7 separate regions of the Homo sapiens genome follow, and all the other regions are linked to region 1. The links are contacts of gene promoters, found by promoter capture Hi-C in human tissues and cell types (Jung and others, 2019). All regions are on one chromosome and are shown on one strand. Each heading gives the region's core, a stretch centred on a gene start or on the middle of the fragment in contact. The rest is flanking DNA. Distances are from core to core; before and after follow the strand shown. Region 1 holds the start of DCTN6 (dynactin subunit 6). Region 2 overlaps KIF13B (kinesin family member 13B). Region 3 overlaps KIF13B (kinesin family member 13B). Region 4 overlaps LOC124901922 (a long non-coding RNA gene). Region 5 overlaps KIF13B (kinesin family member 13B). Region 6 overlaps PPP2CB (protein phosphatase 2 catalytic subunit beta). Region 7 has its middle 49 kb from the start of DUSP4.

What was found. The method cuts DNA at HindIII sites, captures the fragments that hold promoters and counts their contacts. A contact is called where the count stands out against the background at its distance.
Region 2: a fragment that was not itself captured here is called in contact with the fragment with the promoter of DCTN6 in region 1 in 1 of the 25 tissues and cell types used here (dorsolateral prefrontal cortex).
Region 3: a fragment that was not itself captured here is called in contact with the fragment with the promoter of DCTN6 in region 1 in 2 of the 25 tissues and cell types used here (dorsolateral prefrontal cortex and spleen).
Region 4: a contact is called between a fragment that was not itself captured here and the fragment with the promoter of DCTN6 in region 1, in 4 of the 25 tissues and cell types used here (aorta, dorsolateral prefrontal cortex, mesenchymal stem cells and 1 more).
Region 5: a contact is called between a fragment that was not itself captured here and the fragment with the promoter of DCTN6 in region 1, in 1 of the 25 tissues and cell types used here (hippocampus).
Region 6: a fragment that was not itself captured here is called in contact with the fragment with the promoter of DCTN6 in region 1 in 1 of the 25 tissues and cell types used here (hippocampus).
Region 7: a contact is called between a fragment that was not itself captured here and the fragment with the promoter of DCTN6 in region 1, in 1 of the 25 tissues and cell types used here (lymphoblastoid cells).

What each region holds. Positions count from the first base shown.
Region 1 is chr8:30,154,530-30,158,402 of GRCh38, forward strand. DCTN6 (dynactin subunit 6) reads left to right here and starts at 1,840. Exons shown (of 7, transcript NM_006571.4): 1 at 1,840-1,877. The coding sequence starts at 1,855. DCTN6-DT (DCTN6 divergent transcript) reads right to left here and starts at 2,131. Exons shown (of 1, transcript NR_186490.1): 1 at 1,300-2,131. It overlaps LOC124901927 (a long non-coding RNA gene), which reads right to left and starts at 3,581. Exons shown (of 2, transcript XR_007060880.1): 1 at 3,495-3,581; 2 at 2,643-3,353. RefSeq lists enhancers at 931-1,140, 965-1,947, 1,891-2,040 and a silencer at 2,101-2,210. The HindIII fragment of the contact is 3,226 bases long and covers 418-3,643 here.
Region 2 is chr8:29,203,274-29,207,059 of GRCh38, forward strand. The region is part of intron 2 of KIF13B (kinesin family member 13B); the gene reads right to left. Among named protein-coding and RNA genes, the nearest start is that of KIF13B, 58 kb to the right of the region's middle. RefSeq lists a silencer at 2,684-2,837. The HindIII fragment of the contact is 4,434 bases long and covers 1-3,690 here.
Region 3 is chr8:29,226,759-29,230,570 of GRCh38, forward strand. All of the region lies in intron 2 of KIF13B (kinesin family member 13B), which reads right to left. Among named protein-coding and RNA genes, the nearest start is that of KIF13B, 34 kb to the right of the region's middle. RefSeq lists enhancers at 2,704-2,753, 3,430-3,589. The HindIII fragment of the contact is 5,379 bases long and covers 1-3,812 here.
Region 4 is chr8:29,316,516-29,320,263 of GRCh38, forward strand. LOC124901922 (a long non-coding RNA gene) reads right to left here. Exons shown (of 3, transcript XR_007060874.1): 1 at 3,720-3,748. Among named protein-coding and RNA genes, the nearest start is that of DUSP4, 32 kb to the right of the region's middle. The HindIII fragment of the contact is 3,690 bases long and covers 289-3,748 here.
Region 5 is chr8:29,159,054-29,162,713 of GRCh38, forward strand. It overlaps KIF13B (kinesin family member 13B), which reads right to left. Exons shown (of 40, transcript NM_015254.4): 13 at 1,680-1,814. Among named protein-coding and RNA genes, the nearest start is that of KIF13B, 100 kb to the right of the region's middle. The HindIII fragment of the contact is 4,467 bases long and covers 1-3,660 here.
Region 6 is chr8:30,803,693-30,807,291 of GRCh38, forward strand. The region is part of intron 1 of PPP2CB (protein phosphatase 2 catalytic subunit beta); the gene reads right to left. Among named protein-coding and RNA genes, the nearest start is that of PPP2CB, 7.3 kb to the right of the region's middle. The HindIII fragment of the contact is 4,399 bases long and covers 1-3,599 here.
Region 7 is chr8:29,397,638-29,401,276 of GRCh38, forward strand. No RefSeq gene overlaps it. Among named protein-coding and RNA genes, the nearest start is that of DUSP4, 49 kb to the left of the region's middle. The HindIII fragment of the contact is 5,026 bases long and covers 1-3,639 here.

The DNA.
Region 1 (3,873 bases), core at 590-3,089:
ATCAGTTCACTTTAAGGAAGAGAGATTATCCTAGCTAATCTGGGTGGGCCTGATTCAATCAGTTGAAGGCCATAAGAGCTGAGATGGGCTTCCCTGAAGAAATTCCTCCTGTGAACAACAGCCTCACCCCTTGCATGAGAGTTCCAGCTTAGTGTACAGATTTTGGACTTGCTTAGCTGGGGCTCCACAATCATGTAAGCCAATTCCTTACAATAAGCCTTTTGATATCCATCTACTACTAGTTCTGTTTCTCTGGTTGGAAACTGAGTATGTGACATCCGAGACATAAAGGGTCAGAAGGTGTTAGGGTGGGGGCAAGTGGAAGCGGTTGGGGGTGGAGAGTCAGCTTTGCTTTTTTGGAGAATGAGGGTGTGATCGAACACATAGAAAGAGAAAGAGAGAAGTAGGCAGGGGCTGGATGTAGCTCAGAGATAGGTTATGGAAAGCAGTTTGGATTTTAGATTTTAAGAGGAAGGGGAAATAACTGAATTTGGCTCTTATTTTTAATTTTTTTCCATTAAAAAAATACATTATAGAAAAAATATATAGAGACGGGATCATGCTGTGTTGACCAGGCTGGTCTCCAACTCCTGGCCTCAAGCGATCCTCCCATCTCGGCCCCCCAAAGTGCTGGGATTACCGGTTTGAGCCACGCGCCTGGCCTCAATTTGTCTTTTAAAGGATGATTTTGACTACAAGAGAACTACTTGGATCAGGGTTGGGGGTGGGAGATGAGGAGGTGTGATTTCAGAGGCCAAGTACAGAATGAGTGAACAACTGGGAGAGACACATCGGCTGAGATTAGAGAGATGGTCCGGTAGACAAAAGTGTAAGCATGAGACCCGAGGTAGGACAAGCAGAACTTGCAGATCTATTACAGATGTAGGGGTGAGGAGTGCCAGGGTGACTCTTGAGTGTCTGGCTTGAGCAGCTAGGCAAATGGTGTGGATCAAAAAAGCAGCAGGTTGCAGGGAGGACGGCAGTGTTAATCGAAAGTCATGTTCTGTAAGTTTTAGGTTCGATACGACTCTGAGCGGAGATGTCAATTAGTCAACCGAATGTCAGGTGTGAAGATCGGCACAGAGGGCAGAACCAGAGACATTCATTAGAGAGCAAACAGGTAGAGGGCACTTAACCTATAGGAAGGATGCACTCATATAGAGCGAGAAAAGGGCCAGAAGGAGCCCTAATGAGTAGAGAAAGACAGGCTGAAAAGGACATCGGCGAGGTCAGAGAAATACCTTTAGGGTGTAATTACGCCTACGCGAGTGGGTAAAATGAGGGCATAATGACGCGGACTGGATTGCAATAAACAGCTTTTATTCTTTTATCAGAGACACGATCTAGCTTTTTAGCCCAGGCCGGAGTGCGGTGGCATCCTCACAGCTCGCTGCAGCTTCACTGGGCTCAGGCGATCCTCTCGAGTAGCTGGGGTACAGGCGCAGGCCACCGTGACAGGCTTTTTTTTTTTTTTTTTTTTTTTTTTTTTGAAGAGAGGGTCTCACTATGTTACCCAGGCTAGTCTCGCAGTCTGGCACTCCTGGCCTCAAGCGATCCTCCTGCCTCGGCCTCTCGGCCTCCCAAAGTGCTGGCCTGTGCCCAGTCAATGGCTGTTCCAAATTAGGGTCTACCCATCTCTATGCAGGGCTAAAGTCCGCGGGCGGCCCCGCACCGCTACCAAAAGTACAGTCCTGTGCGCCCAGACGCGACGCAAACAAGAGTCGCAAGCTTCCGGGTCCCCGCCCCACCCCGGCTCCGCCCCTCCCCCAACCCTGCCAGGCTCTCCAATCGCATGTGGAATTATCGCTCTACCCAGGCGGTGGTGTCGATCTACGTTCCAATTGGGGCCGTACCATGGCGGAGAAGACTCAAAAGAGGTGGGTTTGCTGCTTGAGAAAAGCCTTTTCTCAGCTTTCCGTAGGGGTGGAACCTGTTCCTGGTCGCCAATGGTGGCGACTCAGAAGGTGTCTCATCCTGGGCATTCGGGCCGAAGGTACCTGAAGCCCAGACCTGGCGTCCACTGAGGGAGGGGGCGACGGAGTGGGGGCGGGGAGGGTTGAGAAGGGACGCGGAGTCGCTGCCTGGAAGGTTTTTGTTCCTGTCTGGCCGTCCCTCCCCACATGCGCCTGCGCAGAGGGGGTCTCCCGGCCGGGAGGGCGGGGGGGGCTGTGAGGGGAGGGTGACGTCAGCTTTTTCCTGGGGAAGGCCGGCTCCCTTCTCCCGCATAATCGGCGGTGCTTGGCGCCGCTGTACCCCACGGCTTGGCGCTGGATTCTCTGCTGCATGTTGCGAGACCCCCACGCCAGTGCTGGCCGCACCCCAGGCCCTTCCTGTCTCTGGAGGGTGGGGTGTGTAAAGGGATTTACGGTCGCTGTCAAAAGGGGGGCCGCGCCTGGACTTGAACTGTGACACACACACACACACATTATATAGATGCAAGGAGTACTTGCGCAGATTTGTTGCATAGATAAATTGCGTAATGGTGAAGTTGGCTTCTAGTGTACTTACCACCCAAATAGTGAACATTGTATCAGATGGGTAATTTTTCAGCCCTCAAACCCCTCCTACCCTCGCTGCTTTTAGAGTCCCCAGTGTCTGTTATTTCCCTCTTTATGTTTATGTGTACTCATTTTAGCTCCCACTTAAAAGTGAGAACATGTGCATTTGATTTTATTTCTGAGTTATCGCGTAAGGTAATGGCCTCCAGTTCCATCCATGTTGTTGCAAAAGACATGTTTCCTTTCTTTTTGATGGCTCTGTAGTATTCCATCGTATAGATACACCACATTTCCTTTATCCAGTCATCCGTTGATGAACACTTAGGTTGATTCCATACTTTGCTATTGTGAATAGTACAGTGATAGTCATAGGAGTGCAGTTGTCTTTTTAATACAATGGTTTCCTTTGAGTAGATCCTGGGTCGAATGGTAGTTCCGTTTGGATTGGTAGCTCTATATGGATTGCTGGGTCCAATGGTACTTGTGTTTAGTCCTTTGAGAAATCACCATACTATTTTCAATAGATGAACTAATTTATATTCCCACCAATAGTGTATAAGCTTAGAACTGTGACATTTTTTGCCAGGCGTGGAGTGGACAAGCTCCTTTGTAAACATGTGGGGACAGGAAGTTTGGCTTCTTCTCCGGTAGTCTTCATTGCTGGGGGCTGTTGGTGGCTGTTGGTGGCTGGGATGAGACAAGTGCATAAGTAAAGCCATTTCGAACAGCAGCAGTGTTGAGCTCCCTCTGCTGACTATTTTTGACAAAGAAAACTGACATTGTTTCTGGTGCCATAAATTAAAATGTAGATTTTTCTTCCATTTAAGTAGATACTCTGTAATCTTTTTTCATAAGCTAAAGAGGAACAGATGTACTATAAATATTATGTGCAGTAGATAGCAGTAGATAGTAGCTTACAGTGAAGATTAAGGTATTGTTGACTTGTTACTTTTACAGATCTGAGGTTAAGTCTTGCCCTCCCATCTGCCGGCTCACCTCTCTGCTCCCACCACTCCGAGATACAAGGGGTCCTTGCAGAGATATCGGGACCACGTTTTAGTTGGCCTAGTGGCCTGCCCCACTGAGAAGTGTGCTGATTGTGACGCAAGCATTACCTGGGATCTCTCCCTTGGGCGTAAAACTGAAGGCAGGGGGCATTTGTGAGTCTCTCCTACTCTCAGTTGCCCAGGACAAGTTCAATGTTAGATAATGCTCTTTTCATAATGAGAAGGAAGCTGAGGAAATGGAAAATTGCAATGAGAAATAAGGTCTAAAACAAGAGACATTTTATAGAGGCTAATGTATTTGACCAGGGCTTAATAAAATTGCATATTTTAACAAAAAAAACCCACTTTAAATGAAAAGTATCAGAGAA
Region 2 (3,786 bases), core at 224-2,723, 950 kb before region 1:
ACCCAGGTACCAATCTTTCAGTCTCAGGGCTTTCATACATGACTATTTCTGTCTTGGACTCTACAGGCTAACTCCTATTCATTTATTAAACTTCACTTATTCATTTATTAAACTCATGATTAAATTTCTCAGTTTAATCATGAGTTCCCTAGACACTATCTTTCTTAAACAGCCTATGTTACTCTCGAAGAAGTATTATGGGGAAAATAAAACCACTTCCACCACCATCCTCTGTCTCTAAAATCATGTCCAAAACAATAAAGAAAACAATGTTTCCATGTTCAATGAAACTTGGAGATATTTACAACTGAAACACACGACATTAAGACAGAAAATGCGCCAGGTGCGGTGGCTCACGCCTGTAATCCCAGCACTTTGGGAGGCTGAGGCAGGCGGATCACAAGGTCAGGAGTTCGAGACCAGCCTGGCCAATATGGTGAAACCCTGTCTCTACTAAAAATACAAAATAAATTAGCCGGGCATTGTGGTGCATGCCTGTAATCCCAGCTACTCAGGAGGCTAAGGCAGGAAAATTGCTTGAAGCCGGGAGGCGGAGGTTGTGGTGAGCCGAGATCACACCACTGCACTCCAGCCTGGGTGACAGAGGGAGTTCCGTCTCAAAAAAAAAAAAAAAAAAAAAAGATAGAAAATGCATCCACAGAATACAAGAAAAGACTGAAACTGGTGCCAATTACCCCAGAAGGTAGGAGGAGACCTAGAAAAGGAAGGTTGTTTGAAAAGAGCAGTTAGACATCTCCTGTGTCCAATCCCACTCAGGACAGTTGGTAGATACTGGTAATTTGCAGTCCTTGGAGAAAACTTATTTAAATGTAGAAAAAAGTTTGACAACCCCATTCTATTCGAATCTTCCACCCACACAAACAACAACTGGTTGAGAACAGAGGGACATCCAAGCAATATGGCCACTGAACCACAACTAGTATATTTCATAATCATAGGACTTTAGAAATATGAAGACTCTGATATATAAATTCCATAATTTCAAACTGTCATATACTGGGATAGCATAATTCAAAGAATACACTCAGTATTAACTCAATCACTTGCAAATCACTTGTCTTTTCTCATCTGTGAAACACACCGGCAGAATGAGTTTCATTTCATCGTCCACTTTCACTATAAGAAAGCTTAAATCTAGCCAGGTACAGTGGTGTGGGCCTGCAGTCCAGCTATTCAGGAGGCTGAGGTGGGAGGATTGCTTGAGTCCAGCAGTTCAGGACCAACACTGCAAGACCCCCATCTCTATAAAAATTTTAAAGAAAAATAAAAAGAAAGTTTAAATCTGGCCAAAGAATACTGACTCATTTGTGGAGGGTTTTTGATGAAGTATATTTCATATCCCACATTCACAGGGTAATACACACTCATTTTAATCATGGCAAATTCAAATAACTTCAAGGTATTCTATATACAGAGATTAGAATACATTACTGAGCTGAGGCCCTGGGCCAGACATCTGGCCTTCGGCCACAGACCAAAAAAAAAAAAGGCGGATTAAGATATTCTTAGACTACAAGCAAAGAAAGCTTCTAATTTTTATTTCTCTCAGTATTTGTGGTTTTCAATTTAATCCCTATTTTCCATCGTGTTTCTTGATCAGATTAATATGACTGAATTTCTGCTTGATTAGATTGATCTGGGGAAAATGTTCACTGAATATGAAATTAACTAATTTCCCCCCAGCCCTTCACCTTTTCTACACCTATATCTCCGAACCAGAGGCCACACACTCAAGGTCTACAGGCCCGACTGGGCACAGTGGCTCACACCTGTAATCTCAGTATGTTGGGAGGCAAAGGCAGGAGGATCGCTTCAGCCCAGGAGATGGAGGCTGTAGTGAGCTATGATCACACCACTGCACTCAGCCTGGGTGACAGAGCAAGACCCTGTCACCAAAAAAGTTTTTTTAAAAAAAAGGTCCACAAGCATTTTGTTCAGGCCTCACTGTATTGATCAAAAGTAGAAAATTAGAAGACATCACATTAGAAAATCTGGATTTTCAAATTCTCTTGAAAATTCAGAAGACTTGGAAATGCTAGGCTTAAGTTCCCACACAGCAGCAACAGGTAGATCTGAACAACTACCACCTCCTACTAGGCCCCTGCAGTTTCAAATTCCTCCTATTAAGAGAAAACAGAAAAGAGTTTTCTTTTCTTCAGACTTGAAGAAAAACACCGACTCACAAATTCATAGGAAAATAAGGAGAACACTTCCAAATCCAAGTCCTAAGAATCTAACAGACAGAGCCATCACAATCGTGTCAGGGCTATATTACAGATTCTACACACCCCATTACATAATACAATCTGCTTTAAGATTCCAAAACCTAATCCCAGCTAGGCTAAACAAGGAATCCCAAATTCAAATGTCCCTCGCAGCAGTAATGTCATTAGAATTAATAGCTATGAAATCAAATTAAACCTAAAGCCTTTGTCTTCACTATAACCAGTGGTAGGTCTAGAGTTTAGATCTAAGTTGGAAAGCTTGGTACTTCAAATTAAAAAGAGGCCAGGCGTGGTGGCTCACACCTGTAATCCCAACACTCTGGGAGGCTGAGGCGGGAGGATCACTTGATCCCAGGAGTTCAAGACCAGCCTGCATAACATAGCAAAACTCCATTTCTACCAAAAAAAAAAAAATACAAAACTCAGTAGGGAATAGTGGCATGCACTTGTGGTCCTCAATACTTGGGAGGCTGAACTGGGAGGATCACTTGAACTGATGAGCTTGCACTTGCAGTGAGCTATGATTGTGCCACTGAACTCTAGTCGGGATAACAGAGCAAGACCCCACCTTTTAAAAAAAAAATGAAATTAACTAATTCCCCCCACAAAAAAAGAGGCTGGGGATAGGGGCATGGTGGCTTATGTCTGTAATCCCAGCACTTTCGGAGGCCAAGGCGGGAGGATCGCTTGAGCCCAGGAGTTCCAGACCAGCCTGGCCAACATAGTGAGACCTTGTCTCTATGAAAAAATTGAAAAGAAAAACAAAAGGCATACTTGAAGTGCATGGCACACGTATGCTGACGCATGCTTGATAAATGTTAGATGCCATCATTATTGTGATTCTGTCTCATGATGCAATGTCTTGGGGTTAAGTCAGCCAGCAGGTTGAGAGAAACTGAAATTCACTATAATTACTCCCAAAATTGACTGCTTAGCGAAGATTTCCTTAACTTCCTTGAGTGAAAATTCAATTTCCAAAAGTTTCACGACTACCTATTTCACTACTCACAAGGGAAAAAACAGCTTAACTGAAGATGGCTTTGTTTATCCCTGTCCTAAGATATGGTTTTCACCTTGAAATGTCTCACAACCCCAACCTCCCTTTTTCCTTCTGATAGTCATTCATTCAGCAAATATTTACAGTCTGCCGTGCCAAGCACTAATCTAAGCCCTGGAGAGACAGCCTGGAAAAACGGGACAAAAACCTTGCCCTGCAAGAGCTTAAATTATTAAAAATAGAATGAATGAGTGAATGAATGAATGAGTAAATATGTCATATAATAGGTGCTAAGGAAATAAATAAAGCAGGGAAGGTGGATGGGGTTTGCGGAAGTGGAAGTGGGGTGGAAATTTTAAACATGGTGGTCAAGAGAAGCCTTGCTGAAAGGACGTTTGATGGTGACCAAGTGGAAGCAAGGGAGTGGGCCATGTGGCTGATGGGGCACAACGCCACCCTGCTTCATGCCCTCCTGGTTTACCACGCAACTTCCTAGCTGTGCTCTCACCCAAGCACACATCTAAACCACACACTGATCTGGTG
Region 3 (3,812 bases), core at 494-2,993, 930 kb before region 1:
CACTTTCATTTTGACAGACTAATGGTCTGATTTAAGATATAATTTCTTAGCAAATAGCTTCTGTTTAAGTTTCGTTGTTAATTGTAGCTAAAGTGTAGATTTCCAAGTTGGAAAATGGAAGCAATTATTTTCATCTGTTCTTAATTTATTTATATTCTGCTCAAGGTCATCACCAAGGTCTGACTGCAAAAATTGCAACCTCAGGCATAAATGGGTTAATACTCACCCCTAAGACAGGCCATTAATTGGAAGGCAAAGTACTTTGAAATAGCTAAAGAAGGATGACCAATTACTCTTTTAGGATGCATCAGCTATATGCACAGATACATTTTTATACCATTTCTTTCAGGCTTTTGATGTACCTTATTCAATAAGGATTCAATAAGGTAGTTAACCTATTTTTATTAAATCACAACATAAAATACTTATTTCAATTATAGTCAATCCTCATCTCAAGTTATGAAATATTTAATATTTTCTGCCACTTATTAATAAAAAGCATTTTATACTAACTGCTACAGTGGTTTACACTTTATTTTTTATTTTTTGAGATGGAGTTTTGCACTTGTTGCCCAGACTGGAGTGCAATGTCATGATCTCAGCTCACTGCAACCTCTGCCTCCTGGGTTCAAGTGATTTTCCTGCCTCAGCCACCCAAGTACTTGGGATTACAGGTGCCCACCACCACACCCGGCTAATTTTTGTATTTTTAGTAGAGATGGGGTTTCACCATGTTGGACAGGCTGGTCTTGAACTCCTGACCTAGGTATATTTCAATACGTATCTGGTTTCCTTGATAATCCTATGTATTTTATGTTTTTGAAAGATTATTCTGAGAAGGAGTCCACATGATTTATCAGACTGTCAAAGGGTTCATGACCAACAAAAGGTTGCGAATTTCTGCTCCAGGCTGGCAGCAGCGGCTCACGCCTGTAATCCCAGGGCTTTGGGAGGCAAAGGTGGCAGGATCACTTGAGGCCAGGAATTCAAGACCAGCCTGGACAACATAGAAGGACCCAAAAATCTACAAAAAACTTGAAAAATTAGCTGGGCATGGTGGTGCACGCCTGTAGCCCCAGCTACTCAGGAGGCTGAGGTGGGAGGATCACTTGAACCCAGGAGTTCAAGTACATGATGAGCCATGATAGTGCCACTGCATTCTAGCCTGAGCAATAGAGCAAGACTTTAAAAAAAATTTTTTTTAAGTCTGCTCTAGAAGCTGTGTTTAGCGCCTTCAGCTACCTTTCTTTCCTGATCAACACTGGAAATTTTTTTTATAATTTGGTTTTTTTTTTTCCTTTCAAAGTACATCATTGGGCATGAACTGGAGGGCTTGTTAATTAGCAAAAGAAATGTTAGAAATAATTTTTCACTGGTAAAGTGCATAGTGTTGAAAGTGTGACTAAAATAATGACTAAAAATATGGGCCGGGCTCAGTGGCTCACGCCTGTAATCTCAGCACTTTGGGAGTCCGAGGCAGGTGGATCACAAGGTCAGGAGGTCGAGACCATCCTGGCTAACACGGTGAAACCCTGTCTCTACCAAAAAAAATAGAGAAATTAGCCGGACATGGTGGCGGGCGCCTGTAATCCCAGCTACTCAGGAGGCTGAGGCAAGAGAATAGCGTGAACCCAGGATGCGGAGCTTCCAGTGAGCCAAGATCGCGCCACTGCACTCCAGCCTGGGTGACAGAGCCAGACTCCATCTTAAAAAAATATATATATATATATATGAGATACAGGTTCCTCCATTCTTAGGACAGCAAAGTATAAGACTAACAAACCTAGCATCCTGTTCCCTGTCATTAGCTAGGGCTCTATCCAGACTTGAATTCAGATTCTATTGCATAATTTTGATCAAAAGAGTACCTGAATCCTGCTACATCTGTCTCAAGGGAAACTTCTGGGGAAGGTGCTTGTCTGAGAGCTGTGGCTTCACTGAGCTTACAGGAACAGGTGGCATGACCAATGCTGTGGCTGCTTGCTAATAAAGATGCAGCAGAACCCAGTCAAAGTTTCATTGTAACACATCTCCTGGTGGTGTGATTGGGCAGGAGAAGGCCTCAGGCTCTCACCTAACTCTAAACATAGAAGGTTGTTAATATCTTGTTACAAATGACCAAAACGGCTTAGATCAGTTCATAACACTCCCACAAGACTAATAAGGACCATGAAGGCTGGAACCAAATTCTCTTTTGTTTATCAGTGTTTTCTTAGGGTCAACATCCTGATAAACACACAGAGGGCACTCTATGGTTGTTGAATGAATTAATGAATATGATACACACTTAGCTGTATGTGGGTTTTTCCTAACTCCAGAATGTCAGCTTTAAAAAAAAAAAAAAAAAAAAAAAGCATGTCATATTTATCTTTCCCTTATCAGGACACCCTTCTGGAGTGATGTGTATCAGATGTCAATCAATAACTGCTGAATGTCTTTAGTTCTGATCTAATCTGAATTAACCAGTTACATTTTTCCAAATGTTTAGAGAAGAAACTCTTCTGTAAAATCTTAGAAGGCAATGAGAAGCTGTGAGCTCATCTAGTTTTGGAGAGACGAGCTTAGGCAGATCTGAGTTCAGATCCCTGTTCTGCCACTTTCTGATCATGTGACCCTGGGAAGCCTTGTAACACCTTTGAGTCTCATTTCCCTTCTGAAAATGTTGAGATAACAATGTGATGCCTATATCGTTTGTTGTAAGATGTCATGAGAACTTATACTCTTGCAAAGGATCTAACACAATATAAACAATACTAATGCCTATAAATAAATGCTGGTTGTCATCAATGAGAAGATCCACAAACTAAAGTCTCTATTCACTTCTTGTATTTCCAAGAATGCTGTGCTGGCTGTGTCTGCATTACTGACACCTTCTAAGCATTCAAAGACCTTGACCACGGAGTTCCTTTTCTTATGATAATGATAGTTCAAGAAACCAACTCTGAGCAATATTATGCAAATTGATGCTCTTCAGAGGAAACCCACAATCCCTTAAATAAACATCTTACAGTTGCTATCTGGGGCATCAAGAAACTACACTTAGATCTACAGCTTAAACAGCTATGATTATTGTCAATTAAAAGCAAAAGGGCATCATTTGTTATTAGAAACCTGGTATTATAATTGACTACATGTCTAACCCAGTTAATATTTATTGAGTACCTACCATATATGCCAGTGTTATTTGAAAAGAATATTACTTAAAATATGATGTTTTAATAAATAAAATTTGTTTAAGAGAGTTGACAAGAATAAATAAATCAAGGCAAAATAGCAGCTACCACCTACTAAGTAGGTACCATGTACCAGACATTTTACATAAATAACTCACTCATGCCCACGGTAATCTTGCATGATCCATATCACAGTGTTATCACCTCCACTTCATAGAAAAGGAAACAGAGGCTCAGGGAGGTGATATAAACTTCCAGATTTACACAGCTGGTAAACAGTAGGCCCAGCACTCACACCCAAGTCTGAGTCATGCTTCTCTTCAACCAACTCTTGCCTTTCCCATCCCCAGACACAGTGGTAATCATTAAACTCCCTCGCAGCACCTCTGTTCTGCAGCTTTGCTACTGCTTACGGGGTTGATCAATTTAAAAATTAACCCAATCTATAAATTGGCCTATCCTCTTCCTAATATTTAAGTTCAGTTCCTTACTATCCATACCAAGTTCTGGGGGGCAAAGGGACCAGACAGGCCCAAAAAGGCCAGGTCAACGGACAGCCAGCTCAACACACAGCAAGAGAATCCCTGAGGACACAGACAAGGGCATGCGAGAGGACGTCTTAGTGTGGATTCCTCAGAA
Region 4 (3,748 bases), core at 884-3,383, 840 kb before region 1:
GAATATAGGCACTACAACCCATCTGGCTCAGACCTTTGCTGCAATGTTGACTGGGGCCACGTATTATAATTGTGGCCTAACTGGGCATATGGCCAAAATAACCCCACTACTCTTTTCCTACTGTTAAACAAGAAACAATTTCATACTCTCCTAGCTTGTGATCTTGATTGGCAAGTAGCAATGACTGACTTTATTGGTAATATCAGCTTTCATTGACCAGCCTCTAAACTCCTGAACTTTTTACAAACTGTGCCTGTTAAATTTGTATTTATGTTGTCTCTGAGCCCTTGCTTCACGCCACTTCTGTCTTTACAGATGGTTCAGGAAAAACTGGAAAGGCAACTATAGTGTGGCAAGATGCCACGCAGAACTGGCAGCACAAAATCCAGGAACGTTTTAAAACTACGCAACAGGCGGAGTTAGGTGCCCTCATATTGGCCTTACAAACTTTTCCTCACCATGACATAAATATGATGATAAAGTGATTCCTCTTATGTGGTGTAGTATTACTGATTTAGATCTTGCACATGCGAAGGGCATTACTAATGAAACCCTACTAGCTTTGTTTCTTACAGCACAAGAGCTCCTCTGTGCCTGTCATCACCCTCTTTACATCACACATATTTGCTCTCATTCTGGGCTATCTAGTCCTTATCAGAAGGGAACCTTCGAGCTGATGCTCTGGTACAAACACAGATGTGGTTTGCAGAGTCTCCTGCCTTTTTGCAAGCTCAAGCTGATCATTGTTTTTTTTTTCATTAGAACGCCCACAGTCTTAAACAACAGTTTCATTTGACACTTGCTCAAGCTCTCATGATTATTAAAACTTGTCCTGATTGCCAATGACATTCTCTTTCCCCCTTTTCCTTAGGGCTTGGTACCAACCCACGAGGTCTGGTGCCTAATGTTATTTGGCAAACTGATGTTACTCAGTATCCATCCTTTGGACGTTTCAAATTTCTCCAAGTTACCGTAGACGCTTATACAGGCTTAATACATGCTACCCCCTGGACTGGAGAAATAAACTGAAGATGCAATTGCTCATCTTTTTGAATCTCTTATGACTTTAGGTCTTCCACAAACTATTAAAACTGATAATAGACCTTGCTATCTTAGTGCTCGATTTGCACATGTATTGCAACTTTGGCACATACAACACAAAACTGGTATTCCTTATAACTCAACCAGTTATTAAACAAACTCATCAAACAAACAAAAAAGGGGGAATATGGGGCTCTCTTCTCTAGAATAGGACCTGTCATTGGAGAATTGACTGACAATGACGGTGATGACTCAGAAGGCACCTGACATTACCTGGGGACCGCTAAAGAAATTGGACCAACAGGCAACTATCCGGCTTGCCGCTGTGGAGGCCCCTGCAACTGCAGAGAATCAGTTTCTTATGTAACTGGCGGTAATTGGGGAAACTTCTGAGAAAAGTAAGACAGACACAGATGTTGGGCTGGTTGGTAATTCTTGTCCTTTGCCAAGTGAGATCAGCTCAAGAACATGTTTATTGGAGTCATATTCTAAATCCCCTTGTTTTTAATGTTATTACACAGTGGGATGCTGACCTGCCTTTGTTATCTAATGATACTTCTTGGACAGGAGGTCGATAGGTGTCCCTGTCATACCCCTTAACTGAAAATTTGGGATGGATTAAACTTAATGACTCCTTGATTTTATTGTTTAGTAATCCCCTCTTTGTTTTTCCACAATAGCACATGGTAAGTGTGTTACTCTCATTCCTCAGGAGTATCTTAACTATCAGCCTAAAAGGGATGCTAAGCTTGCAAACTTGACCTTTATTTCTGCTGTTACTACTAATCTTACTAAGGTCTCTCATGAAGCTGTACAAGTGCCTGATCTTCCTATATGCCGTCCGAGTGGGGACTGGTGATATAAGTTTGAGGCTGTCCAGTGGTCTCCATGCAGACAATCTGCACCATGTCAAGGGCCTCTGTTTAATAATGGCACCTTACTTGATTGGGGTCCCCATGGTTATCTTACGTCTGCAAATCAGACTATATTGGGTTTGGGAGTCCCTCCAATAGTTCTATCACCTGGTCAGAGTATGGGCTTTCAGGACCAATATTACAACTAAAAGGGAAACAAGCTTTAAGCCCTGTTCATACCCAGATTTGGAGATTAGGACTTCCTTTTTTTTTTGAATGAGTTCTTTCACATGGTGAGTACATTACTAAGGGCAGCACCTATACCCTCTCTTTGCATAATAATGTTACTGACACAGTCCTGATTTGTACTATGCACCCCTATATACTTTTGTTTGGGCGAGGTGTTCCTAACATAAAACAGAATCAGACCTTTTATAGTATTAAAGTCTCTTCCAGTACTTGGTATGCTACATGCTTGTCTTATCAAAACGTTACACAGTTAAGTATAACCTACGTCATGATCTTAAAACGGCATGCAGAAATGTGGCTGCCTGTAAATTTAACCTGGAGCTGGGAAGGAAATTCCACCCAGCAGCTATTTAGAAAAGCACTGTCTCATGCTCAGAAAAAAAGATTTCTGGCCACTTTAATTGACTTTTTAGTCTCAGCTATTATCATACTAGCAACTGCTGCTACTGCAGCTGTCTCTCTAACAGGATCTATTCACATAGCCTCAGTGGTGAACCACATGGTATATAATGTAACCCATGAATTTCAGGAACAGGTAAATATTGATAAAACTATTCTGTCTCACCTGGAGGCTCTTGAAGCCGCAGTTGAATGGCTGGGGGGTCAGCAGCAGGCATTCATTACCCATCAAAATTTACATTGTGATTGGCAATATAATCCTATCTGTGTCACACCTCTGCCATATAATAGCTCCCAATATGCTTGGGAGAGAGTGAAAGCACACCTGCAAGGGGCTTATCACAACCGTATTTCTTCTCAAATTTCTACTCTTGAATGTGAGTTAAAGAAACAACTTGAAGAATGGTCGCAGCAATTACAAGCAAATACCCTTCAGCAATTACAAGAGGGCTTTGTGGTTAAACATGAACACTTGGTTGTCTGGGTGATACTGTAATGCCCAACCTGGTTTTTACTAACCCTGTTTTTAGACTCTCCCTTTCCTTTAATCACCTAGCCTTGTTTCCACCTGAATTGACTCTCCCTTAGCTAAGAGAGCCAGACAGACTCCATCTTGGCTCTTACACTGGCAGCCCCTTCCTCAAGGACTTACCTTGTGCAAGCTGACTCCCAGCACATTCAAGAATGCAATTAACTGATAAGATACTGTGGCAAGCTATATCCACAGTTCCCAGGAATTCGTCCGATTGATAACGCCCAAAGCCCCGGGTCTATCACCTTGTAATAGTCTTAAAGCCCCTGCACCTGGAACTGTTTACTTTCCTGTAACCACTTATCCTTTTAACTTTTTGCCTACTTTACTTCTGTAAAATTGTTTTAACTAGACCCCCCCCTCCCCTTTCTAAACCAAAGTATAAAAGAAAATCTAGCTCCTTCTTCGGGGCCAAGAGCACTTTGAGCGTTAGCCGTCTCTTGGCCGCTGGCTAAATAAACGGACTCTTAATTCGTCTCCAAGTGTGGCGTTTTCTCTAACTCGCTCAGGTACAACAATACATACACATTTGGGTGTTGGCCGCTATACTTACTCTTTTTTGTGTCTGTTTGCTAGGTGTCTGCAGATGGCTCTGTGCTGCCACCCGGCACATCTATGAACAGGGAAGAATGATAGAACCTTACCTTGCATTGGATGACCAGCACGCTCTAAG
Region 5 (3,660 bases), core at 690-3,189, 1.0 Mb before region 1:
AGCTTTACTTTCCCGGTCACATTCATATGAATATCCCCAGCTGACATCCTAACTCAGAATGCTACCAGCACTGTTCAGAAGCAAAGTAAGTAATGTGATAATACATTTTTTTTTTGAAACAGAGTCTTGCTCTGTTGCCCAGGCTGGGATGCAGTGGCATGATCTCAGCTCACTGCAACCTCCACCTCTTAGGTTCAAGCGATTGGCCTGCCTCAACCTCTCAAGTAGCTGGGACTACAGGCATGTACCACCACCCCGGCTAATTTTTATATTTTTAGTAGAGACGGAGTTTCATCATGTTGGCCAGGCTGGTCTTGAACTCCTGACCTCAAGTGATCTGCCCGCCTCAGCCTCCCAAAGTGCTGGGATTACAGGTGTGAGCCACCACGCCCAGCCAATAATATATCATTTTTTAATAGGCAAGGATAATATGTGTATAAGAAACCATACAGGTATCAAACAAAAAAGTGGAATGTGGGATCTTTTCTATTTGTATAGTGCTTCTGTTTACGAAGTACTTCTGTATCTCCAACCCTCACAGGAACCTGGCAAAGTAGCCAGAGACCTTCCCTCCATTTACAAAGGAATTAGACTAGAGGGGGCAAAGGGCTTGGCCGTAGACTAGAGAGACAGGTCACTCCCTCCTACCCCAGCTTTGCCGCCACTGAACCACAACACTTGAGACATGCACATATGAAGGTATGCATCAAAGACACAGCCTAACTCACAGCATGACAATACATCATATAAGATACTTATTAACAACAGGGCTTCTCAAAATGACACAGAGTCACTGACCCAGGATCTCTCCAGGCTTTTCTGAAATGAAACCACACAATTCTCTTAGAGCTGTTTCCCACATAGTCAGCCTGTTAGCTTTACTTTCCTGGTCATGTTCATTAAACCCACACATGTGAGGGGAAAGAAACTGTGTGCCAACAGTTATCAACTCTGTGTTAGAGTCGTGTAGTCCATCATATATGATAAGTAATTTGTGCTCTGGGCTTGACACAGCCCATTCTGGGCACTCCTCGAATCTGTGTGGTGTCTCAGGGTTCAGACTTATTCTGAAGTTGTCTCTTATCTTACTAATATATCCCATGATTTATAGATTTCAGTGGATACCAATATTTGTCTTCTTTTCTGTTCTGTGCTCTGACTCACTGAGTCTCTAAATAACCTATACTCTCTCTCTTTTAATAGATTGATAACCCAAATTTTTAATTTTTCCTAAGAGTTACTGGAAACATAAATTTCATACCAACTGGTCCTAAGAACTTTATTTATACATTTTTTTCTTGTGAGCTAACACACTGCTCACAAAAGAATGTGCTTCACATAAACCATAAAAGCTTTCGTATACTTACTAAATGAATCATTTAGTCTTCAAAGTCATCCATTTTTAAAGTTATCTACTTAATTCCCTGATACAAATCACGTTAAATAATGGTAGGTAAGGTATTTGACTTGTTGGAAATAATATCAGAGTATCATTTTTTTATATTGTCAGGTTGAATGGCATCAAAGACTAAAAAAGAAAACTGAGTCCAGAAACCCAAGATGGTTCTATAACTTTTTGCTGTTTTCTGAGTAAGCATGGTTCCCCAAGTTTACTAAAGTACTGTGAAATATTGTCCTATTTTGTAACAAGAATCTAGTAGCAAAGCACATTACTTCACCTTTAAATAGTACACCAGAAGCTCATTCAGAGCTGGGTCAGCATTCAGATTCACAAGGAAGCATTTATCATCCCCAACTTTGATTCCCGAAGACTGAAGAGATATTCCAAGACTCTCAAGCTGTTTCTGTCGTTCCTGTAAATGTTATCAGAGAAGTATTAATTTCACAGCTATTGAGGCAGTGAGATATCCAAGCGTTTACATTACAATGTTACAATTATTCAATAGTGTTGTAATTCAAATACATTCTCTTAGGCTATGGCATTATAGATTTATTGCATTTTTCTCTTTCCAAACTATATGATTTTTTTGTTAATTCTAATTTTATTTTGAAAAATAAAGTCTATTACATATAGTAACTAATTGTACTAGTGATTCTCAGTTTTCATTCTTGAAAATATCTGATGTCTTGAATTCATCTCATTTAACTCTGTATATATAAAAGCAAAAGTGTGTGCACTTTCCTCAACCGGGATCCTTCTTAAAAGCAAAGGAGGATCAATAAACTCTCCTGCTTGACATCTTCAGTGACCTCCCCATCAGGATAAAGGCCAAACTCCCTCAGTAAGGATCACAAGGCCCTTCAACCTGGCCTGCTTCCCCTCTGGCTTCATGTCTTCTCACTCCTGTCAAACCCAGCACTGCATGAAACAAGTTCCAGGTCCTTGAGAGTGCTAAGAATGTTCTCTGGGCTGGGTGTGGTGGCTCATGCCTGTAATCCCAGCACTGTGGGAGGCCAAGGCAGGCAGATCACTTGAGGTCAGGCGTTCAAGACCAGCCTGGTGAAACCCCATCTCTACTAAAAATATAAAAATTAGCCAGCTGTGGCAGCAGGTGCCTGTAATCCCAGCTACTCGGGAAGGTGAGGCAGGAGAATCACTTGAACCCGGGAGGTGGAGGTTGTGGTGAGCCGAGATCATGCCATTGTACTCCAGCCTGGGCGACAGAGAAAGACTCCATCTCAAAACCCCCCCCCAAAAAAAAACAAAAAACAAACAAACAAAACAAACGTTCTCTGTGTTCTCGTTAGCTGAAAAGATTTTATACCTCTTTTTTCTATCTGGAGCAGACGTGTTCTACTTCGTAACTGTTCACCGGGCCATTTCTCTCACACAGGACTGTGTGCTGTGTGGGTATGGATCCTATCTTATATACTGTTGTGTTCCCAGCACTTAGCACAGTGAAGGACACATGGTGAGCACTCAAAACATCAGTGTGGTGAATTTATCCAAAAACAAACAAATTTGCATATGCACTCAAGCGTTATTTTCATAACACGGGCCTTTCCTTTTTTGTGCCTGCCTCTGAACCCATACAATATATGAACATCTGTACATCGTAAGGATATGGGCATGGATCTCACAACCAGATGCTCTGTAGTTAGGGTACAGTCGGGGCTGGAGAGGGTATCTTCGACTATGGGTAAATAGCAAGTAGCAATGAGTCAATCACCCAAGACCTCTGATTCTGGGGAAAGGCAAGACAAACTAAGTCATTTAACTACAGCCACAAAGTAAGTTCGCAGCATAATTAAAATAAAGTTTCACAATTTTGCTATTTCTAGGCATGCCATCGTAATTTATACAATCACTGCAACTCAGCCAATATATCCTGCCTAGAAGTATACTACCACAAAATTGAAATGTGTATTTTGGTCCTGGGTCTTCAAATCAAGTCTTTAAATCCAGTTCTAACAAAAAGAACTACAGGGTTCTTTCAGAAGTTTTGAGTCATTTAATGCTAACCATCAGAGTTTTCTGCACTCAATTCCAAGAAGTGATTCTCCTTGAAAAAGACTCATGTCCATAAGATGAGGTAACTAACTATACCTTTCTCTAAGTTATCCTAGTTATCACTGTTTTACACTACTTCCCTGTGCATATTTCTGTCATTTGAGATTCTATAATGGTAAAAACGCTACAAAATTTTTGTCAAAGCCGAAAGAGGCACAATGGTGGAAAACTGTCAATTCATTATTCCG
Region 6 (3,599 bases), core at 875-3,374, 650 kb after region 1:
CAAAAATGCTAAAACTTGCACAGTAAAAATTATACACACATATCACAAAGTAGAAAATAAGACCTTAAACATTTTTAAATGGCTAACTTTTGGAGAATTTATACAACCAAGAAAAGACAAAATACAATTTTTTTTTTTTTTTGAGACGGAGTCCTGCTCTGTCGTCCAGGCTGGAGTGCAGTGGCGCGATCTCCATCTCAGCTCACTGCAACCTCCGCCTCCTGGATTCAAGTGATTCTCCTGCCTTAGCCTCCCAAGTAGCTGGGATTACAGGCGCGTGCCACCACACCCAGCTAATTTCTGTATTTTTAGTAGAGATGGGGTTTCACCACGTTGGCCAGACTGGTCTCAAACCCCTGACCTCGTGATCCGCCCGCCTCGGCCTCCTAAAGTGCTGAGATTACAGGCATAAGCCACTGTGCCCAGTTGACAAAATACAAACTTAAAACAAAAAAAGAATATGCCAACTCAACTGGAAAAATCCCTCACATTGCACACACTCCACAATTCTGATAAATCTAGCCTTGTTTTCTTCATGTATTTTGGTATTGCCATTTATTATTATTAAGGTTCTCGTCCCTCAGAATTTGCTATGGAATAAAAATCTGTATAGTGAAGAATTAACCTCACCCGAGGAGAGGTCTGGCCTTTGCCCCTGGAATTTCCTGCTTGGTAAAGAGATCTCTGCCTGGGGGCTCTGACCTGCGGACCATTAACAATGTGACTCACGATGCGGACTTTGGATGATCCCACTATCAGTTTGGTCTCTGGAGGACTGGACACTACAGATGTCAGCCCCTCTTGTACTCTGCCCTTATGAGTCTTTTCCCTTGGCTTACTTTAAATTGTATTCATTCCCTGTAATAAACCATAATCATCAGTGTAACAGCTTAAAGTGAGTTCTGTGAGTCATTCCTGTGAATCACTGAACCTAAGAGTGGTTTTCGGAACCCACTGAACTAGTATATTGGTGCCAAAACTGAGGCAGTCCTGGGCAGTGTTCCCTGTAATTTATAGTTCACTGAACTTTATTTTTTGTCTGCTGTTCTGAAGGTACATCATGACTAAACTTTTGAAGATGGTGTCAGAGGTGAGAACAGTGTTAGGGACTGTGCCTTCTAACTCTCGCAAAATCCTTTTTAATTACAAAAGTAAACCACATTATAAAGAATTTGGAAGGTTTTCTATGACCACCCTATTAAAAAAAAAAGAGTCTCTTGAATTCAAGCCCATCACTGTCCCCATCTTCTGCTTTTTCTTGCCAGCAAGAATCAATGCCTGGTGTTCATTAATCGTGTCCCCTCTTCACAGCTGAATCTCTAGCACTTTGAACAGTCTGGTACATAGTGGTTCAACTAAAATCTGTTGAATGTACGGGATAACTACACAGTGGCAGCATTCTGTCAACCAATCCTCTCCTTTCTTCTTCACTGCCCACAGGAACAAGCGCCTCTTTTGCTACTCAAGCCAAGTCGAGAATACACTGAACCAATTCTGAGCTCTCATCATCCAGGACATAAATATCATGCGGAACTCTTTTAAACGAAGATGAAAATTATTTCCCTCTCTATAAGATGGGATTTTGAGCTGGGCGCAGTGGCTCACGCCTGCAATCCCAGCACTTTGGGAGGCTGAGGCAGGCAGGTCACAAGGTCAGGAGATCCGAGACCATCCTGGCTCACATGGTGAAACTCCATCTCTATTAAAAACACAAAAAATTAGCCGGGAGTGGTGGCAGGCACCTGTAGTCCCAGCTACTCGGGAGGCTGGGGCAGGTGAATGGCATGAACCCGGTAGGCGGAGCTTGCAGTGAACCGAGATGGCACCACTGCACTCCAGCCTGGATGACAGAGAGAGAGACTCCATCACAAAAAAACAAAAAAAAAGAGATTTTGAGCAAAATTAAACTACAGCCTACACACCGTATCCTGCATATTAAAAAAAATCCAACTATGCTAAAAAGTTAATTCAAATAAGCTTTTTTCTAAGATTGAATAGGTGAGAACACTTAAATTCACCACTGTATCCCAGTCTCAACATAAAAACGATTGTCTTTGTATAAAATATTCACTTAATAGATCTCCAATGGAGTCTTCCACATTTTTGGTGTAACATGATGCTATTATAACGCAAGTCAGGAATCTCAGGTTGCACCTCAGGATTGTCTTTTAATTCATTTGATCACAAAAGTATCTCAGTCAAAAAACAGTTTACAAGGAATGATGATAAATATTTCTAAATTACAAAGGACACAACAGCAAACCAGTTCTAAGCTTGAGTGCTTGAGCTCTCCCATTCTCTGGAAAGGAAACGGAATCTGTAATACACAGAACTCCTTCCCAGGGTTAATATGATTTTTTTTTTTTTTTTTTTGAGATGGAGTCTCCCTCTGTCACCCAGGCTGGAATGCAGTGGCGCGATCTCGGCTCACTGCAAGCTCTGCCTCCTGGGTTCACGCCATCCTCTTGCCTCAGCCTCCCGAGTAGCTGGGCCTACAGGCGCCTGCCACCACGCCTGGCTGATTTTTTTTTTTTTGTATTTTTAGTGGAGACGGGGTTTCACCATGTTAGCCAGGATGGTCTGGATCTCCTGACCTCATGATCCGCCTGCCTTGGCCTCCCAAAGTGCTGGGATTACAGGCGCGAACCACCATGCCCGGCCGTTAATATGATTATTAATGAAATTTAGAGTTGAAAAGTAACGTACAGGAACTATTAGATCACATTTGGTCATTAAGGAAGAAAAGATGTCTTCATACAAGTTTCTTTAAACAATCTGGATTAGGTTTACATTTCATTACATTTACTTGAAGGAAATCAGTTCAAAACAATAAAAAATTTCTATTTAACACAGACTCAGATTTCTTATACAGATTACTTCTGTAACTTTAATATCATTCTTCTTAGAAAAAACTACATTCAGAAAACAATCTAGGAAAATTAATTAAGCATTAATTCCATCTTCAATTTCTGGCATTTTCATTTCCTTTTACCAAGGAAGGGCTTCATTCACCAAGTCTTTTATAACATTCGTACTGAAGAGAAAAGACTGTGAAGAAAAAATTTCTGCAAGATCTTCAAATAAGAATAAAAGGCACACACGGCAATAAAAGCAGGCAATGAAAAGAAATTTTACATTGCAAATATCTTCACTTTATCTACTTAGGTAAATATCTTATGGCAAGGGTATATTATTGTTAAAGGGCAGTATTAAGTATTAAATATATTTACCTAGTCATATATATTTGACACGTCATATATAAAGTAGAGAAATGTAACAAAGTCCACTTTCCCGCCATTAGCAATAGTTCATGCTAGTCTAGTTTGGTTTAATTTCTTTACCTGTCCACTAAGAGGCTGGCTTAGCAAGGAAAACAATGATTTGTTCAGTCACTAGAATTGGGTCTTGACCCTCTATTTCACTGTAATCATGCCATTCTTCATTATACTAAGAAAGGAGCTATTTTATCACTGCATTTTAGATTTTATCAATGGACCACCAAAGCTGGCACTAATTTTTGTTCGAGGGAAATTAAAAATGGAAGTACCAGTTAGGCATTTTGCCTGTCAAGACCACTATTTTTATTTTTTAAGCTGTAA
Region 7 (3,639 bases), core at 613-3,112, 760 kb before region 1:
CCACACCAGCTATCAAGGACCCAGTTTCCTTCTACTGGGTTACTCCACCATCAACTATGGTCTTGTCATTGCTACATGGTTGAAGCTTGGGTGGTGAGTAGGTTTGCTGGTAGGAAAGACAAAATAATTCAGAAAAGGCATGGCCACTTTCTAACGCTCAAGCCTAGAAGTGACACATGTCATTTCCATTCACAGTCTGTTGGGTGAGAACTGAGTCACATGACACTCTGAACCATAAGGGAGTCTGGGAAATGCGGTTGGCTTCTGTGCCCAGACACCAGTATGAAATGGTAGGCAGTGAACAACCTCAATTACAACATTCTGATGGGAGACATAATAGCTTATTACCTGCTTCTCTGCATACAAACCTCTTCCTGTCACTGTGGGGTGAAGGATACTAAAGAAAAAAAAGGATTATCTCTTCCATAAGGAATCTGCATCTTATTAGAAGAAATACTCTCTGTGTGGATACAGACACAAAGCTACAAGTATGACAGAGAATGCTGTAAATGCCCAAAGCACAAAACACACAGAGTTCAAAGGGCAAAGGGTTATAACATGCTATGATGGCCCTGTGGGACAGTAACCCTCCTAGACCCTTTCCTGTGCAACATTAGCTCTGCTCTATTGCTGTTCATGCCTTTCATCATTCTCTGCGCAATATCAACTCACCTATATTTTGTCTGCACTGAGAAACAAATCCTCTCTCTGTCACCCCCCTATGGAACGTTCGACACCTTTATAATGTTCCCCATCAGTAGGGTGAAGGAGGGGTCCTTCTTTAAATTGGGGCTGCAGGCATAAGCCATGATTGTACCTGGCAAATGGATTGTACGGTCACACTACCAAGGGATATGACGCTGGGATGTCACTGGCTCCTAATGGAGGAATCACCTGGGATTCTGCCCCTTCTCCCTTGTACCGGTTGTGCCTTCTCAACAGGTTTCCTACAGGTAGCTGACTCATAGCTTATAGATTCATGTTAATTTCTATTAAAAAGAAATTTTTACTGGGATTAGATATACTGGTTTTTTTTGGCTTGTGTGTGTGTGTCCTTAAGTCATTCAATTTACATTGAAATATTGAAGGTAGAACTTAACTTTTGGTCCTATAGTCTTTATATTTTTCAGTACAACAATGCCTCGTATAAATGACCTGAATTACTTCATTCTAATTTCTCTACTCATAAAATAAACAGGATATAACCTACTTAAACAAAAACCGATCACACAAATGCAAGACATCTTAATTTTTTTTCTTAGTTATTGTTATTTGGTAGGGGTGGGGTGGGAATGAAGGTACAGGGAAAAAGGGAAAAGCTGTGGGAGTATAGTACATATTCTCATGGACTCCTTTCAGGAACAGAGTGGAAGAATTTACAGAACATATCAAGCAAGTTGGAATTTAGCCAATGTGCCTTGCTCTCTCTTTATATCGGTGGGAAAATGTTCATTTTGAACACAAGTGCCTTATATGCTGACATTTTTCACTGCTGTGGAATATAGGAAATGTGCTTTGTTTGTCATTTTAAAAAGTTATAAATTCTGTGACCTTGAGACCTTCAGCACAAAGATGTAGAAAAGAGAGAGTGGGAACTCCCAAGTCCCCTGAAGTCACTTGCTCAGTCCTTTAGGGGCTGAGATGCCCTCTTTGTGTCTGGGGAAGATGGCAGCTGATGTTAGTAGCCCTTGATTTTTAAATGCGACCAATGGGATTTTTTTTTAAATCCCTGCATTCTCTTTGCAAAGCTTCCCAGGCTGTTTGGGGTTTTAGAAAAAGATGTTAAAACCAACAACTTTTTATTTGTTCAGAGTACTCTTAACGACAGCTTACCCGTGATCCACTTAAATCCTAAATGATAAAATTCATTCCTTTATGTGAATGTATTGCTAGCTCTCTTATGGGATGTGGGGTATAGGAGTTTAGGATAGAACTAGATGGAGCCCAAGATACCAGCTGTTACTTTGCTGGCTCTAAAAAGTCAACTGCTTTAGAGCCCAGAGGCATAGAATATAAGAGTTTGAGTCCCTGGAAACTTTGAGTAGTGTTTACTCACCTACGAGACAGGCACCCTTTTTTCCACAATATGTGGACAATGATAACAGATAAGAGTTGTTCAGTGCACCACGTAGTATGCACTGGGTTAATTTTTTTTATATCCTCTCATTTATACCTCACAAAAACTCTATAAGGAAGGCGTTATTATCCTTATTTCATGGATGAGGAAATAGAAACTTAAAGAGATTAAAAATCTTGCCCAAAGTCTCAGTTAAATAATTGGCTGCACCAGGAATTGGGTCCTCATCTATTTGACTCCAAAGCCTTGCCTTTCATGGGTTTACTTTCCCAAATAGTGATAAAAAGGAAAGTGAGCCCAATTCTCGCAAATGCTATCAATACTTTGTGTGATGTACTGGGGGACTGCACCTTCAAATAGTGCTAAACAATACGCTTTGCATTGCTTCTGCTTGTGGCATCCCTGGATTTCCTTTAGCCTTCCAAAGGGAGTTTACCTTAAGGGATATAAAGCAGTAAAATAAGCTGAATGTTTCTTTCTTTGGAGGGAGTGTTGAGTGGATATCAACTGGCAGTGAAGGGTTGCAGATGACCTTGTTCAAGGTTGGAACTTCTCCATCAGCAGTGGGCCACGGAAGATCCTATGGTTGGTATGGTTGACTGTGACCACTTCTTTTCTGGAAAAGCTTGACCTCAATCCATCCAGATTAGGAAAAGTCTACTTTCTGAGGGGATCTTAGAGAATCTCCTGTACTGCGGGAATCAGATATTTACCTACCTCGGCCAGGCACAGTGGCTCATGCCTGTAATTCCAACACTTTGGGAGGCCGAGGTAGGTGGATCACTTGAGGTCAGTAGTTCGAGACCAGCCTGGCCAACCTGGTGAAACCCCGTCTCTACAAAAATAGAAAAATTAGCCAGGTGTGGTGGTGCACGCGTATAGTCCCAGCTACTCGGGAGGCTGAGGCAGGAGAATCACTTGAACCTGGGAAGCAGAGATTGCAGTGAGCTGAGATTGCACCACTGCACTCCAATCTGGGCAACAGAGGGAGACTCTGTCTCAAACAACAACAACAAACAACACCAAAAACAGATATTTGCCTACCTCAAGACAGCTAAAAAATTGTAGCTCTATTTGTTGAAGGATGCTAAATAAAAAATATTCAGAATATTCAGAATATCAAGCTATGGATTCAGGCTGGCAGATTCTTTAAAAAGAAATTATCTCTTTCTGGGCCAATTTCATATTGAGGTTAAGTCAGATATGACCAATGAATGGTCTGTGATATCCATCTATCCTGTCTGGGCAGAGTGAGTACTTGAAATAACTAATTCTGGTTATGGGATTAAAGTTACTTTTATTTTTTAAAGAATATTTAAAAATCTTTTCTATATTTGGTATGTGTTATTTTAACAATTATTAAAATAGAAGTATTATTAAAGATTTACGGCCAGGCATGGTGGTTCACGCCGTAATCCCAGCACTTTGGGAGGCTCAGGCAGGTGGATCACTTGAGCTCAGGAGCTCGAGACCAGCCTGGCCAACACGGTGAAACCCTGTCTCTACTAAAAATAAAAAAAATTAGCCAGGTATGGTGGCGCATGCCTGAAATCCCAGCTACT